3 separate regions of the Homo sapiens genome follow, and regions 1 and 3 are each linked to region 2. Evidence: promoter capture Hi-C in human tissues and cell types (Jung and others, 2019). All regions are on one chromosome and are shown on one strand. Each heading gives the region's core, a stretch centred on a gene start or on the middle of the fragment in contact. The rest is flanking DNA. Distances are from core to core; before and after follow the strand shown.

What was found. Contacts are between HindIII fragments. The study calls those that stand out against the background at their distance.
Region 1: the fragment with the promoter of SPI1 here is called in contact with the fragment with the promoter of LRP4 in region 2 in 1 of the 25 tissues and cell types used here (IMR-90 fibroblasts).
Region 3: the fragment with the promoter of MYBPC3 here is called in contact with the fragment with the promoter of LRP4 in region 2 in 1 of the 25 tissues and cell types used here (small bowel).

What each region holds. Positions count from the first base shown.
Region 1 is chr11:47,376,910-47,379,826 of GRCh38, forward strand. It overlaps SPI1 (Spi-1 proto-oncogene), which reads right to left and starts at 1,638. Exons shown (of 5, transcript NM_003120.3): 1 at 1,400-1,638. The coding sequence starts at 1,444. RefSeq lists enhancers at 192-391, 1,062-1,111, 1,285-2,236, 1,732-1,801. The HindIII fragment of the contact is 21,953 bases long and covers 1-2,917 here.
Region 2 is chr11:46,916,997-46,920,060 of GRCh38, forward strand. It overlaps LRP4 (LDL receptor related protein 4), which reads right to left and starts at 1,554. Exons shown (of 38, transcript NM_002334.4): 1 at 1,332-1,554. The coding sequence starts at 1,383. RefSeq lists enhancers at 1-615, 1,779-2,283, 2,978-3,064 and silencers at 1,119-1,288, 1,299-1,478, 1,489-1,718. The HindIII fragment of the contact is 14,675 bases long and covers 1-3,064 here.
Region 3 is chr11:47,351,367-47,354,234 of GRCh38, forward strand. It overlaps MYBPC3 (myosin binding protein C3), which reads right to left and starts at 1,336. Exons shown (of 35, transcript NM_000256.3): 1 at 1,257-1,336; 2 at 1-139. The coding sequence starts at 1,281. RefSeq lists an enhancer at 1-960. The HindIII fragment of the contact is 22,693 bases long and covers 1-2,868 here.

The DNA.
Region 1 (2,917 bases), core at 388-2,887, 460 kb after region 2:
GAGCTCTGCCACCCATCTAGCTCCACCTGGAGTTCAGAATTGAGAGGTCAGGGATCAGAGACAGTGGGCCTGTGGCTTTCTTGAGGCAGAATTGGCTCTTTCTGAGACAACCTCCGTCACCCTCTGCCTGGGCCGCCCACTTCGTGTTCCCAGGTGGGAAGGGGTGTCGGTGTGGATGCCACAGCAGGCTGGCTGGTCCTGCCTGGTCCTGCCTGTGGCTGGCCAAGTGAGGAGGCCAGGAGCCCAGCACTGAGCCTGCCCCTCTGGGTTTCCAGGTAGTACAGCCTCGCTGCAGGATGTCAGCCCGGCTCTGGTCGGGTTGGTGTGATGTCAGGCCTGGGGTGCCTCCCAGCCTCCTGGGGTGGCTCTGAGCCAGGGCATAGTGGGGGAAGGGAGCTGCCTCTAGACCAGGAAAGTGGATTCAGGTGGGCAGCCTGCCAAGCCCTTCCCGGCTCCCCTCAAGCCTCCTCACTCCTGAGAGGTCATGGGGTGGGAAAAGGGAGAAGGGTCCTTTCCGAGGGACCCTGGTCTGACACCTGCCTAAGGCTGCAACTGTCACTGAGAGTGAGGAGCAGTGGCGATCTGCCCTTCTCTTCTCGGGGTCCCCTGGGGCTCCCACTTCTTCACCCCCAAGACCCAGTCCCTGTCCTTGTCCCAGCCTCAGCCCCCATTCTCACTTATCACATGCTCACCCCAGGTCCCACCCAGCCCCAATCTCAGTCCTGGCCTTGTCCCAGCCCTGTCCCCTGCCGCGCCTCTCCCTGAACTCCAGCCCTGGGGCCAGCCCTAACTGCACTGTCTCAGCTCCACTCCTGGCTCCTTTCCAGCACCAGTCCCTGTCTCCTGTGGGTACCCCTGTGGGCCCATGGCCCTGACCCTTTGGTCAACAATCATGTCCTCTGTGCCAGGCCCCAGACTGGGCGTTGGGGACCCAGAGTTCCATCAGCTTTGGTTTCCAGGAGCCCCAAGGCCATGGGCCAAGACTTCTGCCCATTGCCTCCTGCCTTCAACCCCTTCCCATCCAGGGGACCGGCCTCCCCCAAGCCAGTCCCCCCATCTCCCTCCTCTACCTCTCTACCACCGCCTTCACCATCCTCAGCCCAGCACCCTCCCCAGGAGCCCCGGCCTCCGCCTGCCACCCGAGCCCTGTCTATAAATAACTGTTCAGGCCCCACCGATCACAGCCCCACCGTGGGCCTGGCCTCAGCCCGCCAGGGCATGCTCCGAGGAAGCCAATGGCCCCCTCGCTGGGTCTCAGGCCAGGAGTTCCAGGGAGGAAACCCTGACTTCCCACTGATAGCAAGCCAGGAGGGCAGTGGGTGGGCTGGCGGGTTCGTGGGCAGGCAGGCAGGCGTCCGAGGGCCACGGGTTGGGCTGGTGGAGGAGTCCCGGTACTCACAGGGGGGACGAGGGGAAACCCTTCCATTTTGCACGCCTGTAACATCCAGCCGGGCTCCGAGTCGGTCAGATCCCCTGCCTCGGTGGGGGCCAATGCAGAGCCCCTCAGGATGGGGTGCCCCGTCAGGGGCTGGACGGTCGTGGGGCGGGTGCAGGGCTCAGGCCTGCCCCCTGAGCTACAGGAGCCCTGGGTGAGCCCCCTCCCTTGACATTGCAGGGCCAGCACAAGTTCCTGATTTTATCGAAGGGCCTGCCGCTGGGAGATAGTCCCCTTGGGGTGACATCACCGCCCCAACCCGTTTGCATAAATCTCTTGCGCTACATACAGGAAGTCTCTGGCCGGCTGGGGCAGGTGGTGCTCAAAGGGCTGGCCTGGGAAGCCATGGGGTCCAGGCCCCCTGCCCAGAGGAAGCTGGGACTGAGAGGGATGACTTTGGGGGCTAAGCTGGGGAGGGAGGATGGGAGGGAGAACGTGTAGCTCTGCCACACCACTGGGAGGCTTTTGCTCTAACCCAACAAATGCCTGCTTCTTTTGAGATCCCTATGTAGCCAACAGTCACCTCATTGGGGTCAGAGCTGGAAGGGGTGGCCTCTTGGGGCCTCCACTTTCTGGAGTCAGCCTTCCTGGGTGAGGGCTCTGATCTAGCAGGCTATCAGGCCTGGCTCTTCCTGTGGCCCTGCACCCCCACTGCCTAGGCTATCCCTAGGCTGAGGCTGGGCTCAGGTGTAGGGTCTTCAGCATAGTGCTGCTTTCTTCCTTCCCTCTGAATCTGTTCACATGGGCTTCCCTACCACCAGAAGAGGGTCCTGGGTTCTTATACCCTCCCCTCCCAGCTTCTTGATTACCACATTCAAATCCCTAGGGCTCTGTTTCCAGCCCAGGTTTCTCAGTTTCCCCATCCCTTGGCAATGCCTGAATATCAATCTAACCCTCCTGGTTTACAAACCTTTCTTGCCTATCCACCATTCATCTGTTTTCCCATGCATCTATTTGTCTGTCTATTTGTCCATCCAGCTATCCATTCATCAAGCCCACCATGCATTCACTTATGTGTCCATTTATCCAACTGTCCGTTTGTTTGTTCATTCATCTGTCAGTCAATTCATCCACCCACCCATCTGTTTATCTACTTGTCTATCTAACCATCTATATGTCCATTAATCAGCCCGTCCACCTGCTATCAGTCCATCAGTCCACAATTCCATCTGTTTATCCATCTATGAATCTGCTCATCCATTCATCCACCTGTCCATCCATCCACCCATCCACTCATCCACCCATCTACCCATCCACTCATCTGTCCATCAACCCATCCATCATCCACCTACCCCTTCATTCATTCATCCATCCATCCACCAGTCCACTCATCCACCCATCTACCAATCCACCCACCTACCATTCCACCCATCTATTCATCCACCTATCCATCCATTCACCTATCAGCTTCGGTTTCCAGGAGCCCCATGAGAACAGGCAGTATTTGACTTTCTGTTTCTGCGTTGTTTCGCATATGATAAT
Region 2 (3,064 bases), core at 304-2,803:
TCGGAGAGAAAGAGCTCAGTCCGCGCTAGAGAGGACGCGGAAAAAAGCCCCTGAAAACCCACAGGTAGTTTAAATAAGAGACATGAAAACTCTGTTTTGGATTTGGGAGGTAAACCAATCTTTAAAACGAGTGCCTAGACATCTCCACGCCCTGCCAGGCAAGTTCGGAAATCTGCACTGACTTTTTCCACACGAGCTGTCCTACGTGAAAGAAAGAACCGGTAAAAGACCAGGCAGGGTCTCCAGACCCCTCCATTCTGAGCCCCAGCTCCCTTCATCGGGGCTGCGAGGCAAATGGGGAGACTCGGAACTCCCGCCACGATGAATAGCGATGGGTGAATAGGGCTGGGGTTCAAAGATCAAAGTTCTTTGATCTCTGGGCACAAACTAGGGAAAGCTGCTCAATCACGGGGTGCACCCAGGGTCGTTAAGAGCCCGCGGAGAAGCAGATTCCATCGGAGCCCTAGTCCCACACAACAGGGGGTACGGGCACCAAGGAGTCCTGCTGCAGCCGTCCAGCTCCCCCGAGGGCTGGGACCCTGCCGCGAGGGCCCGGCGGCTGCCTTCTGGGGTTCAGGGTTACCGGCCCCCTGCCCCCCTACCCCAGCCAGGGCAGATCTGCGGGAGCCTTCCAGCAGTTTCTTCCCTATATTCCTCCTCAGCCCCCTTTCCAACCACCTCCCTTTAGGACGATCCAGGGCTGGAAGCTGACTGGCCGCAGCCAAGAGAGGGACCCCGAAACACCGCCGAGGGGAGATGCTGCCCGCAAACAGTGCCCCAGAGCCCCTTGGTGGGAGCAAGACCTGGAGTCCGGGAATCGTTCTCCGAGTAGAGGAATCCCGGTGCCCAAGTACCAGATTCTACCGGGGCCTCTCTCCGCAACCCGCCCGAGCCCCCAGCCCCAGGAAGGAGGGCTATTTACAATTTATGGGTTTAGCGACCCTCCTCACCCGCCTCCCTTTCTTCGCACGCATTCATTCGCACCAAGGACACAGAGCCCCCGACCTAACCTGAAAGGGAAGCAGCCCCCGCTCTTGAAAGAGCAGCGAGGGAGGGCGAGCGAACGAACGCCCCGGACCTTACCCGCGCCCCGGCCCAGACCCGCGCCCCGGCCCAGACCCGAACCCGCGGAAGCGCCTCCGCTGATGCCCCCGCTCGGACTGCTGGAGCCGGGGCCGCTCCGGGTCCTCTCCCCTGCACGCAGCCCCAGGGCCACGGCTAGGAGCGAGGGCGAGGGGTCTCAGGCCCCGGCCCGCGCCGTCCAGGTCCCGGGAGGCGAGTCCTGCAGCGGCCGGACCCAGGGACAAACTTTCCCGGCGGGCGCCGCTTACCGTGTGCGCAGAGCAGGGCGCCAAGCAGCAGCGCGCCCCACTGCCGCCTCATGGTGCCGCCCGCGCCGCTCGCCCGGGGTCCCGCCGGCTCCCGCCGGACGGCGCGGCGGAGAAGCCCGCGGAGGGTCCCCGAGGGGGAAGCGTCCCGGGTGCACGGCGGCCTGCGCGCCCCGCAAGTCGCCCTCGGGCCGCCGCCGCCTCCAGTGCTGCCAGAGCCGACGCTGCCCCGCCAGGGGACCGGGAGGGGGTGTCCCGGGCCCGACCGCCCCGCCCCCCGCGCCGCAGCCCCGGCCACCGCCACCGCGCCTGGGCCCGCCCCCAGCGCCGGCCCGGCCCCTTCCCGCCCTCGGCCCCGGCTCCCTGGTCCCCCGACCCCACCCGCCGGCGCCTCCTGCGCGGGGCCCCGCTCCTCCTCAGGCCGCCCCCACATTCCTGGCCCGAGAGAGAGCCCCCTCCCTGTCGCTATTACTACTGCTTAAATTTCCCTAACTTAAAAAAAAAAAATTATCCTAGCAGCAAGTCTCGCCCCCGCTCACTCCAGCTCTATGCTTCAGACGAGCACCTGAGCTGACCCAAGTCGCCTGGACGTGACCCTGCCCCCGCCTACCGGCCCCAAGTCCAGACTTTTTTGATGTCTGCGAATACGCAAGGCTTGTGGATGCATAATCCTCTTGGGTCTTTATTGACATCAAACAAGGGACATCAGGGGGCCTGGAGTGCTGTATCTTAACTGGCGTTCTCACTGTCAAAATTCCTTTTCGGAGATTTTCTTCTCCCTGGCCTCCCCCGGTCTAGGCAGCGTTGTTCTAGGGCTAAATAATTCACCGACCCCCCCGCCCCTTTTCATTCACTCATTTCCTGAGATGGTTGTCTGGGTCCTGTTGCTCCAGCTCAGAGGCCCAGATTCGGCCCATACAGACTTAGTTCCTCCTTGCTGTCTTTGTAAATCACTGTTGTTAGCCTCTTCACCTTCTTTGACTTTCTGATCCTGACAAGGAAGGGAGGGGGTCAGGAAAGGAGTCCTCATGGGCAGCTGCACTCCCACAAAGCCCTCAGCCTCCTTCCAGCCCCAGTCTGTAGGTCCTTCCCTCAGATTTAACTTTTGATTTACTGCATAAAATCATAAACTTGTCTCTAGTCTTCCTTCCTTTTGTGGTCTACTCTCCCTAATGCATATTAATAATACGGATTAATTTCACCACCTTCCATTTTTCCAGGTTGAATCTTGTTTTGTTCCTTTTGCCCAAATGCCCAACTTTCTGATGGCCCAGTATATCGCTTTTTTCCCTCCCAGCTGATATGCCAGCATTTCTTGGGCTTGGATCATCTATGGATTTCATTAACTCACTTTCCTCACCAGTAAATAGAGTCAGGAAGACCCAAATGCCCCCTGTTAGCTGAGGGGAAAGTAATTTGGCATAGTGCAAAGTGGTTATTAGATTTCTCTAAATGGATACATTGACATTTCATCCTTGCTTGTTTTTTTCAGTACTTTCACTTCAAATTACCATCTTTTACCAAAGCTAACATGAACCATACTTTGCGACAGCAACAACAACAACATAAAAGATGTAAGGTGTTAACTCCTTGTTAGGCAGTAGTTTTCTATATCGTTTTGCCTGAAATTTTTATCCAGATGCAATGTGGTTGAACTAGCATCACCATGGTAACTATTACTGAAGCATTTTCTGGGTGTGTAGTTCTTCTTGCTGACTGAAGGCGGCAGTAGCGTC
Region 3 (2,868 bases), core at 86-2,585, 430 kb after region 2:
TACTTGTTGCTGGCGCTGATGTCACTGCCTCCGCGCTGCCAGCGCACCTTCACTCCTGCCCGCTCTGTCTCGGCCTCGAACACGGCAGGGCTGCCTGCGGCCACTTCCACTGACCGTGGCTTCTTGCTAAAAGCTGAGACTGAAGGGCCAGGTGGAGGCTACAGCGGCCCCTGGTTGGAGCGTGCACCCCGCCCCTGCAGCCCCTCTCAGTAAATACTGTGCTAGCACTTTCTATGCATCCCCTCACGTAATACTCTACCAGTTCTCTGAGGTAGTTGCAGTTATTCTGTTCATTTCTCAGAGGAGGACACTGAGGCTCAGAGAAGCTAAGCGGCTCCTCCAAGATCACACAGCTAGCAGTCGGGAGAGCCAGGGCTGTGGTCCTGACCTCCCAACAAGACTTTTTCTGCATGTGTCCACTTTCCCTGCTTGGAGACACCCGTGATGAACCCAGCTCCCTTTCCCCCAACCATTTCGGGCCCTTGGCAGGGGGCGGGGAAGTCTGCCTACTTGGAATGTGGCCAAATTTGTCCTCCAAGGACCTCAGGCTGGGTATCAGCAACTGAGATAAAGCTGGCCTGGGAGGGCGCTGGGGGATGGGGACCTGGATCTCTGCCCTGGACAACCTTCATAAGGGCACAGCCCAGGCCCAGGTCCCTGGGCTGTGATTTTCCCTGCCCTTGGCCTGGGTTCAGGGGCTCCTGACTGTCCTCTCTCAGAGAAGAGGGGCTGTGTCACCCTCAACATGGGGGCCACACCGTACAGGCTCATGAAGCAGATAATGTCACAGCCAGGAGGAACCAACCCAATGCCACCACCACCCCCGGCACCCCAGGTTGGGAGACTGAGACCCATAGTGGGTAGAGACTGGTCTGAAGGCATGCCGTGAGCCTGGCTCAGCTCCATACTAAACGTGGGCTCTGTCCGCGGGGAACCTTGCTGTGGAAGGTGAAGGCAATGGGACAGGGAAGGGGTCCCTTTGCATTCTCAGAATGGGTTGACCCCGGGTGCTTCCTGTCTTGGCTGTGTCCCCTCTCTGCGTCCCTGACCTTGGGTTTACCTTCACCTCTCATCAGAGGGATGGGAAAAAGAAACCGAGAATCAAAAAAGGACCCTGGAGGACTGGCTGCCCCTGTCCTGGGGCTCAGAGGCCACGTCCTCGTCAACCCCCTCAAGAACTCCCTCCTAGCCCTGCTCCCCAATTGTAGACACCCCCCTGCTCCCACACTTAGACCCAACCCCAGTCCTAAAGCTACCTGGCTTCTTCCCCGGCTCAGGCATCCTGAGAGACGTCACACCAGGCACGAAGCAGGCACAGGTCACCCAAAGAGGGACTGAGTGGGGTCCTGTCCTTCCCACTATATATGGGGACCTCCCCCCTCCCCAGGCTCTGCTTATCTGCCTCCTGTCCAGCCACCTGCTAAATATAGATGAATTCCAGAGAGCTGAGGTCTCTCCAGGGAGAAGGTAGGGCCACATTGTCCCTGGCTGGCTCCTGTCCCTTCCCCCCTCACCCCCCGCAGCACAATTCTGCCTCCCCAACCTTTGGCAAGCCTCAGGGGTACTCCAAGCCCCGTGTGTGTCCCTCTTACAGCAAATTGTACGGTGGGAGCATGCTGGGCCCATAACCCTAAGGCTAACGGGTCAGGAGCATCCTCGCAGGCAGTTCAGGCAGTGGTCATGTCCACAGACCCTGGGGCCAGGGTGTCTCTGAGTCCTAGCACTGCCATCTCTTTAATCTCAAAGCACCTGGTTTCCTCATCTGTAAAGCGGGGTGGGTGAAAGCAGCACCCACTGCACAGGATTGTCACACGTATGAAGTGGGTTTATAATTTTAAAAATGTTAGGCCGGGTGTGGTGGCTCATCTGTAATCCCAGCACTTTGGGAGGCCGAGGCAGGCAGATTATTTGAGGCCAGGAGTTTGAGACCAGCCTGGGCAACATGGCAAAACCCCATCTCTACTAAAAAAATAAAAAATAAAATAAATACACACACACACACAAATTAGCCAGGTGTGGTGGTGTGGACCTGTAGTATCAGCTACCCAGGAGGCTGAGGTGGGAGGATCGCTTGAGTCCAAGGAGTTCCGGGCTGCAGTGAGCCAAAATCGCACCACTGCACTGCAGCCTGGGTGACAGAGTGATAATAATAATAAAAATATTATTTATTATTATTTTTTATTATTAATATCTCAAAGAATAATAATAAAAAAATAAAAATGGGCTGGGCGAAGTGGCTCACACCTGTAATCCCAGCACTTTGGGAGGCTGAGGCGGGCAGATCACTTGAGCTCAGGAGTTCGAGACCAGCCTGGGCAACATGATGAAACCCCATCTGTACAAAAAATACAAAAATCAGTCAGGCATGTGACGCACACCTGTAGTCCCAGATGCTCGGGAGGCTGAGGCAGGAGAATCACTTGAGCCCGGGGGGTCAGGGCTGCAGTGAGCCATGTTCGTGCCACTGCACTCCAGCCTGGGCAACAAAGTAAGACCCTGTCTCAAAAAAAAAAAAATAAAAATAGAAGAATGAAGACACAACACCATTTTGCCTTCTCTTGTGGCCCTGCAGTAGGACTAGGGAGCTGCAGGGTTGGGCTGCAGTGAGCCCTCTGGGGTTGAGGAGGTGTGGGGCGGGTATTTGTCCCTACGATAATGGCCCCAGAATCTGGGTTCCCTAAGGTCTTTGACAGCGTTGGGAAGTCCCTCACTCCCAGGCTGTCTACTGCCACTACTTGCTACCGTCTGGAGGAAAACACAGGACTTACAGGCTTCTCCGCTCAGCTTGGTCTGTTTCTCCCCTGCTGTGGCTAGGAGCTAGAAAGCAAATAGAACCTGGGGGTCCCACCAGGGATTCACTTGGGTCTA